2 separate regions of the Homo sapiens genome follow, and region 1 is linked to region 2. Evidence: promoter capture Hi-C in 16 types of primary human blood cells and fetal thymus (Javierre and others, 2016). All regions are on one chromosome and are shown on one strand. Each heading gives the region's core, a stretch centred on a gene start or on the middle of the fragment in contact. The rest is flanking DNA. Distances are from core to core; before and after follow the strand shown. Region 1 overlaps ENTHD1 (ENTH domain containing 1). Region 2 holds the start of CACNA1I (calcium voltage-gated channel subunit alpha1 I).

Region 1 (4,227 bases), core at 444-2,943, 290 kb before region 2:
CTTTAGTCTGTTCACAAAGGAGGTGACCTCATGGCATAATCACCTCTTAAAGGCTCCACCTCTTAATGCTATCACATTGGCAGTACTTGAATTTTGGAGGGGATACATTCAAACCACAGTTGTATGTATTTCTTTATCTGCTTCTCTCTTCCGTGTACATATATGGTGATTTCTTTTCCTCTATATGTTACAGCTTCAAATCCTATTGTGTATGTTACTCTAAATCTTTAACCATGTGTCCTGGTCATACATCTAGGTCAGTATATCTAGATCTAATTCATACCCCTTCTTTGTATGCCTATATTGTTTGATTATTGCAAAGTATTATTGCTTTTTCTTTCTTTTTTTTTTTTTTTTTGAGACAGAGTCTCGCTCTCTTGCCAAGCTGGAGTGCAGTGGTGCAATCTCAGCTCACTGCAACCTCTACCTCTTGAGTTCAAGTGATTCCCCTGTCTCAGCTTCCTGAGTAGCTGGGACTACAGGCACATGCCACCATGCCCAGCTAGTTTTTTGTATTTTAGTAGAGACAAGGTTTCACCATATTGGCCAGGATGGTCTTGATTTCCTGACCTCGTGATCTGCCCACTTCAGCCTCCCAAAGTGCTGAGATTACAGCCATGAGCCACCGCACCCAGCCATATATTGCTTTTAAAAGGAAAATCCAATAATGTATTTAAAGTGAAAAATGTAATGCCAGTATATAATTTTATCATATATTAATGACTTATTTACCTTTTAAAGTATAAGAAAAGGAATATACTTATCAGTAGTTCTTTATTTGCTGCAGGTTTTTTCACTGCTGAGATTTTTATTTTTAAAAAAATTTCTGTAGAAAAAAAATTAATTATAGCCTTAACTAGTATTTCCTTTTCTAAGCAGAGTCAATGTATTTTTCAGGTTATTATATCCGGGAAAAATCTAAGCAAGTCATCACATTGCTGATGGATGAACCATTGCTGTGTAAAGAGAGGGAAGTGGCATGTCGGACTAGACAGCGTACCTCCCACTCTATATTGTTTTCTAAAAGACAACTTGGTTCAAGTAACTCACTGACAGCGTGCACTTCTGCCCCCACACCGGATATTTCTGCTTCAGAGAAGAAGTATAAGCTTCCTAAGTTTGGAAGGTTACATAATAAAAGTACGTATAATGAACATTGGCCTAAAATGCAACAGGTATCATTAAAAATGATTTAAAAATATAAAATATTATGTTTTAGTACTAAATTATTAATATTATTTAGTATTACTATTACCATATTAGGCTTCATACTATAGAAAACAACAACGAAGAATATTCAATAGAAGATTTTATGACCTTTTTAAAGTTTATTTGTTTGCTTTATTTATTTATTTATTTATTTTTGAGACGGAATCTTGCTCTGTCTCCTAGGCTGGAGTGTAGTGGCACTATCTCAGCTCACTGCAACCTCTGTCTCCTGGGTTCAAGCAATTCTCCTGACTCAGCCTCCTGAGTAGCTGGGATTACAGGCACCCATCACCATGCCCAGCTAATTTTTGTATTTTTAGTAGAGACAGGGTTTCAGCATGTTGCCCAGGCTGGTCTCGAACTCATGACCTCAAGTGATCCTCCTGCCTTGGCCTCCGAAAGTGCTGGGATTATAGGCGTGAGCCACTGTGCCCAGCCCAGTTTTATGACTGTTTTCTGAATGCAGTTATCTTTGATTCAAATAAAATGTTTTTGAGCTTTTAAGGTATTAAACTAGTGACTACCCTATTTGGCATCGTGATTCAATTTTAAGTTTTTTATCCTTAACTGGAAAGTGAAGGAGTACAGTTTTCTAAGACTAGGTGTCTAGTTATGTGCGTATGAGGTCTCTTTGATCCTGTAACATAAATCAAGTAATTGAAATTTTCTAAAGTATGCTTCAGAATCCTAAAAGTGCTCTAAAATTATTCTAGGACAATACCTTTTACCCTTTCCTTTGCTTAAAACTTTAAATATGGACTACTGAACTTTTATAACAGAGGGATTTATTTATAATGTTATAATAGACATGAGTAGAAAAATGCTATCATCTTTTCTACCAAATTTGCTAAAACTTTAAAAAATGTCATTTTGCTCTAACTTCTCCAGTAGAAACCCTGTTGATAAGTTGTGTATGAGAAATGGACAGCTTGAGGAAGCAAAAACATTAGTGAAATGTGACTTAGAGAACTGTCCCTTTGTATTCAGTACAAATAGATAATTCCAACTGTCAGTTAAGTGCAAAAATGTAACAATGTTACTAGTAATACCAACACAAGTTAAGCTTGCTAAAAATCATTCAGGTACTTTTCTGTCTTAATCAAGAGTTTCAAACGTTCACCCAGTGAGACATAGAGTGAACATCCACACTTGGGATTGGAGAGAGACATTATAAGAGGGTAGCCATTGTAATTATAGTAGCAAATACTACCTACCGGCTTCTAAAAGTGGTGGGATCTTTAGGGGATCTGATTCTTTTGAAATAAATCTCCGAAAGAGACAGCCACTCATTCTGAAATTTTCTCATGGGAGCCTTTAAATCAAACTGATGCTAAAAACAGAGTAACAGAGAAGAATAACCAATTATGACTCATCCAGAGTTTCTTCCCCACTTTTGCTTCTTCGATGTTACCTTTCTTACTCTTCCTTCTTCCTTTCTTTTGTCAGTTCTTTCTTCTTTCATTGTAAACACATAATTATTGAATTTATTTAAAATTTGGATATTCAGCAGAAATTTGGAACTATAGGAGTGAGTAAAATAAGTTTTCTTTTATCATGGAACTAACATTCTAGTGGTAGAGACTGGGATGTCTCTGTCACAAGCATAAAATATGTCAGATAATAACAAGTCCTGTAAAGAAAAGGAAAGCAGGGTCAGGGAACAGAGTGACAGGGGTGGGTTTATTTTAGGTCACGTAATGAGAGAGGGCCTTTTGGAGGAAGTGAATCTTCAAACAGACCTGAATGAAGTGAGGGAGCAACCCACATACAGGCATACCTCGATCGATTGCACTTTGCTTAATTACACTTCACAGATAACGTATATTTTACAAATTGAAGGTTTGTGGCAATCCTGTACCCAAGAAGTTTATTGGCACCATTTTTCTGATAGCATGTGCATACTTTGTGTCTGTGTCACATTTTGGTAGTTCTTGCAATATTTTTAACTTTTTCCTTATTATTATATGTGTCATGGTGATCTATGATCAGTGATCTTAGATGTTACTGTTGTAATTGTTTTGGGGTACCACAAACCATGGCTGTAGAAGACCAGTGAACTTACTGATAGATGTCATGTGTGTTCTGACTGCTTCACTGATCCCGATCTCTCTCTCTCTCCTTGGGTCTCCCTAGTCCCTGAGGGTCAACAATATTGAAATTAAGCCAATTAATAACCCTACAATGGCCTCTAAGTGTTCAAGTGTAAGGAAGAGTCGCAGGTTTCTCACTTTAATTCAAAAGCTAGAAATGGTTAAACTTAGTGAGAAAGGCATGTTGAAAGCCGAAACAGGCTGAAAGGTAGGCCTCTTGTGCCAAACAGTTAGCTAAGTTATGAATGTAAAGGAAAAGTTCTGGAAGGAAATTAGAAGTGCTGCTCCAATGAATACGGGAATGATAAGAATGGGAAACAGCTTTATTGCTGTTATAGAGAAAGGTTGCATGGTCTGGATAGAAGATCCAACTAGCCCCATTATCACTTAAGCCAAAGCCTAATCCAGAGCAAGGTTCTAACTGTCTTTAATTCTGCAAAGACTGAGAGAGAAGAGGAAACTGCAGAAGAAAATCTTGAAGCTAGCAGAGGTGGGTTCATGAGGTTCAAGGAAAGCAACTGTCACCATAACACACAAGTACAAAGTGAAGCAGCAAGTACTGATGGAGAAGCTGTAGCAAGTTATCCAGAAGATCTAGCTAAGGTAATTGATGAAGGGGGCTACACTAAATAGATTTTCAATGTGGGTGAAATAGCCTTTTGTTGGAAAAAGATGCCATCTAGGACTCTCATAGCTAGAGAGGAGAAGTCAATGCCTGGCTTCAAAGCTTCAAAGGACAGGCTGACTCTCTTGTTAGGGACTAATGCAACTGGTGACTTTAAGTTGAAGCCAACTGCTCCTTTACCATTCCCAAAATCCTAGTGCCCTTAAGATTTCTTTAAAAATATTACTGCTCATTGACAGTGCACCTGGTCACCCAAGAGCTCTGATGGAGATGTACAAGGAGATTAATATTGTTTTCGTGCCT
Region 2 (4,378 bases), core at 1,050-3,549:
CTGGGCACAGTGGCTCACACCTGTAATCCCAGCACTTTGGGAGGCCGAGGCAGGCGGTTCACGAGTCAGGAGTTCGAGACCAGCCTGACCAACATGGTGAAACCCCATCTCTACTAAAAATACAAAAATTAGTAGGGCATGGCGGTGGGTGCCTGTAGTCCCAGCTACTCGGGAGGCTGAGGCAGGAGAATTGCTTGAACCTGGGAGGCGGAGGTTGCAGTGAGCCGAGATCGCGCCACTGCACTCCAGCCTGGGTGACAGAGCGAGACTCCATCTAAAAAAAAAAACTAGCCAAATGGGTGGTCCCTGCTTCCCTCTTCCCCGGGCACTCCCTGGGACAGACACCAGCTCTGCCTCTTTGTCCTCAGTGTCCCAGGGCAGATGTCAGTGAGTGCTGGGTGAACTAATTACCGAGCAGACCCTCTCACCAAGCCTGAGACGCTGTGAGCCGTCCCCCAGAAGGAGCAGGGAGGCTCTTAGCCCCCACCCAGCAAGGAACACCCAGTTCTGCATCCCACTCCAGCAGAGACCCGCTGGTTTCCAAAAGTTAGGGGGATCCAGGGCCCACGATCACCTCAGCCCCCTACAGAAGGGAAGCCTGGCAGTCCTGCAGCCAGTCTCAACATCCCAGCCTGCATCTGGCATCCCTGGATTCCAGGGCAGGACTCAGGCCTGCACCTGACCCACCAGCTCCCCGCACCCTGCCCTGTGTGGCCACAAGCACCAGAACCTCGAGCCACATATGGGCATTTTTTGGTGGGACCCTCAAACCACAAGGCCACCATGGCTTGGGTCCCCAAGCCTCCTCCTCAGTGGTCCCCAGCCCCCACTTCACCCTGCAAGCCAGTGCCACACAGTCCTTCCAGAGCACAGATCTCTCCAGACCCTGCTTCAAATCCTGCCCTTGGAGCACAGTCCCATCCCTCATGCAGCCTCCAAGGCCCTGCAGGGCTCCCGCCACACCTGCAGCCTCACCTCACTCCTCTCTGCCCCTCAGGGCTCCAACACTGCCTGCAACTCCTCCCTTCTCCAGGCTTCGCTCCTGCCATGCCCTCCTCCTGCCTCCCACTACCCTCTCTACCCAACCAACGCTCTTCCTTATTGAGGAGTCAGCTCTGGCATTGCCCATGTACACCCAGCAAACACTGCCAGAGCACCCACGATGTGCCAAGCACTGTGCCAGGTGCTAGGGTCCCCATCCCAGTCATCTGACAGTACCCCAGGGGAGGCAAATGTTAGATTCAGAATTCCACAGTTAGATGTGACAGTTAGATATGAAGCAGAGGAGGAATCCCAGAGGGCTTCCCTGAGGAGGTGATGCTTAAGCTGGGATTTTAAGGATGTAGCAAAGGATTTGGCCAGGTCCAGGGGGAAGGGAAAAGCTTTTCAGACAGGGGGAAGAGCCAGTGAGAGGACCCTGAGGCTCAGAAGAGCACAGGGGGGAAGCCAAGTGGTGGGAAGTGAGGCTGGGTGGAACACACAGGCCCTGATGGGTTGGATTAGGACTTTGCTCTGCACCTCCAGGACCATAGCAAATCATGACAGTCTTAAGCAGGGGGAACATGAGCCCACTGGAGGCAGCAAGTGGAGGCAGGAGGCCTGGGAAGAGGCTGCTCGGAGGCACAGTAAGGAGAATGAGTCCTGCCCTGTGTGTTGGGATCGGCTGCCCCGCTGCCCACGCCCACAGTTCCTGATCACGGCTCCCATCCTCTGTATGGTCACGGCCCATCAGGTGGCTCCAGAGTCTGACTGATCTGCATTCCCAGCCCAGCACAGGTCTGGGGCCCACACTCAAGGACTTTCTGAGCCAGCCAGCCACTGGACTGACCCCACAGCCACCAGCAACTTCCAGAACCTTCACATCAGCAGAACACCAGGTCCTCATCCATTTGAGGTCTCCCCAGACCCACCCTCTGAGCTCGCTCACCACCACCAAGGCCCAGTGGCCTCACCGCAGACCTCAGGTCTCCCAGCCGGAGCAAGGTGTGAGCAGCAGGACTCAATCCAGCCCCCCACCCTTCAGCCCCTGCAGGGCCCCGATCAGCCGAGGCTGCGGAGGATATGGGTTGCACACCATCTTGATGCACCAGTTCCGGGGGCTGGTGGTCTGTCGCAGGCAGAAGAAGGCAATAGGCGCCAGGTCTGGGTGTGGGACATGAGGATCAGCTCCATCCAGAGGCTCCTCCAGGCCTGGCGGGGAGGATGGGGGGCTCCGGGGTCCGGGCTGCTCCGTGGTGACTCCTGGCTCAGCGGCTGGGGCTGCTGCAGATGAGGAGGGCGGGGAGGCGCTCTCAGCCATGTCCACACTGAGCTGGGAGCCCTGGGGAAGACAGAGAGGGTGGCACGTGGTGGGGACAGGCCTGGTACATGCTCCCCAACCTGCCTCTCCACCAATAAGTGGACGGATGCAGCTCTGACAGCCCCACCTGAGCCCCACAGGCCCCTCACCCTCACTCTTGCATGAGGATTACGAAACAGCTGAGGGCCCAGCTGCACCCAACTTGGAATCTGCTTCCAAGCTGGGTGATCATGGGGCAAGTCTGCTCACCCTGGCTGAGCCTCAGTTTTGGCAAACGAAGATAGTGGGGAGAATAAAGCCTTCTTAGAATATAATTGTGATATTAACTCTTTTTTTTTTGTCTATTGGCAATTTTCTGTATTTGAAATCTTTCATTATTTAAGAGAAAAAATGTTTAAGTAATTATAGACAGAAAAGAAAGACGGAAGGGAGGGAGAGAGGGAGAGAGGGAGGGAGGGAGGGAAGAAAGGAAGGAAGGAAGGAAGGAAGGAAGGAAGGAAGGAAGGGATCTTAACTTTTTTACAAGACTAGAGCTATGTATTTATTGCACCATCAAAGGTAAAGAAAACTTGCAAGAAAAAAGAGGTGATTGTAAAGACAGACATTATTGCCAGGACAATGCAGGTTACAAAGGCAATGTTGGGGTGCTGCAGAATCAGAGACTGGGGGAACGCTGGCAAGCCAGGAGGGAATCACAGTTGGCTTCCCTGAGGAAGTAACCCCTGAGCTGAGACCTACAGCTGAGCCCTTGACCCAGGGACCTCCCAGCCACTGCCTTACAAGGCTGAGAACCCAGGAATCTTAGAGTCTAACCTCCTTGCCTTACAGATGAAGAAACCGAGGCCCAGAGAAGGGACAGGACAGACATGTAGCAGAGTAACAGCAGAAATAGAATTCCAGTCAAAGGCCAGGCACGTGACTCACACCTGTAATCCCAGCACTTTGGGAGGCCAAGGTGGGTGGATCACCTGAGGTCAGGAGTTTGAGGCCAACCTGGCCAACATAGTGAGACCTCATCTGTACTAAAAATACAAAAATTAGCTGGGTGTGGTGGCACACGCTGTAATCTCAGCTACTCGGGAAGCTGAGGCATGAGAATCACTTGAACCCGGGAGGTGGAGGTTGCAGTGAGCCAAGATCACACCACTGCATTCCAGCCTGGGCAACAGAGCAAGACTCTGTCACCAAAAAAAAAAAAAAAAAAGAATTCCGGTCAGAGCCCGCTTCCTGGGTCTGTGGCTCAGGCAGCTGCACAGGGCCCCGTGCTCAGAAGGGCCCTGAACTTGCTTTAGAATTCTTCTGTCACCAACATGAAATTCTTAATTGCTTATCAAGAGGTCCCACATTTTCATTTTGTTCTAGGTGATGCAAATCATCTTGCTGGCTCCGACTCCAACTCAAAGCACTTCTACTCCCTGGCCTTGTCTGATGCTCACAACAACCTCAGGAGGACTATTATGCCCATTTGGCAGGTGAAGAAACTGAGGCCAAGAGAACAAAGCGGGTTGTCAAGGCTATGCACCCAGCCAAGTGAAGCACTAGGTGGTGTTGAGAGGCCAGAATCCCAGCACCAGACCCCCAGGCGGGCTTCATGACAACTGATGGTGCCCTCGCTGGCCGAGAGCCTCCGCAACCAGTCAATGGCAAGATGGGACGGACAGCCACTCCCAGGGCCTGCCCCTCACCACCTCACCCCAAAGGGTACTAGTCCCTAAAACTTTGTCCACTGGGGTCCCTGGGATCCTAGAACCCCTACAGGGCCAGTCTGAGCCGTGGGATTGAGAGATGGGGTCCACGTCCCTGGTGCCCACCCAGCTGCTGCTGGGCTGTCGACCAAGCCACCCGGAGCTGATGCATTTGGACATTTCTCTGGCTCCCGGGGGCAACGGGCAGGGGTTGGCACCTCCTGCCACTTCCCCTGGCTGGTCAGGGAGGCGGAGTTTTCTCCTGAGCTCAGGGCTTTGCTCTTGATTCCAGAAAAACAGCCACGGGCCTTACATAAGCTCCCAGGCACCTTGGCCTGCCACGTGTCAACCTCCTGGGCTGAAACGCACCCTCCCTAGGGTGGTTCCAGCTCTG

Evidence for each region. The method cuts DNA at HindIII sites, captures the fragments that hold promoters and counts their contacts. A CHiCAGO score of 5 or more calls a contact.
Region 1: a contact is called between a fragment that was not itself captured here and the fragment with the promoter of CACNA1I in region 2, in 1 of 17 cell types (naive CD8 T cells). The highest score is 5.3, in naive CD8 T cells.

Annotation. Positions count from the first base shown.
Region 1 is chr22:39,858,678-39,862,904 of GRCh38, reverse strand. ENTHD1 (ENTH domain containing 1) reads left to right here. Exons shown (of 7, transcript NM_152512.4): 3 at 898-1,140. Among named protein-coding and RNA genes, the nearest start is that of ENTHD1, 33 kb to the left of the region's middle. The HindIII fragment of the contact is 1,163 bases long and covers 1,112-2,274 here.
Region 2 is chr22:39,568,674-39,573,051 of GRCh38, reverse strand. CACNA1I (calcium voltage-gated channel subunit alpha1 I) reads right to left here and starts at 2,299. Exons shown (of 37, transcript NM_021096.4): 1 at 2,064-2,299. The coding sequence starts at 2,299. The HindIII fragment of the contact is 9,228 bases long and covers 1,385-4,378 here.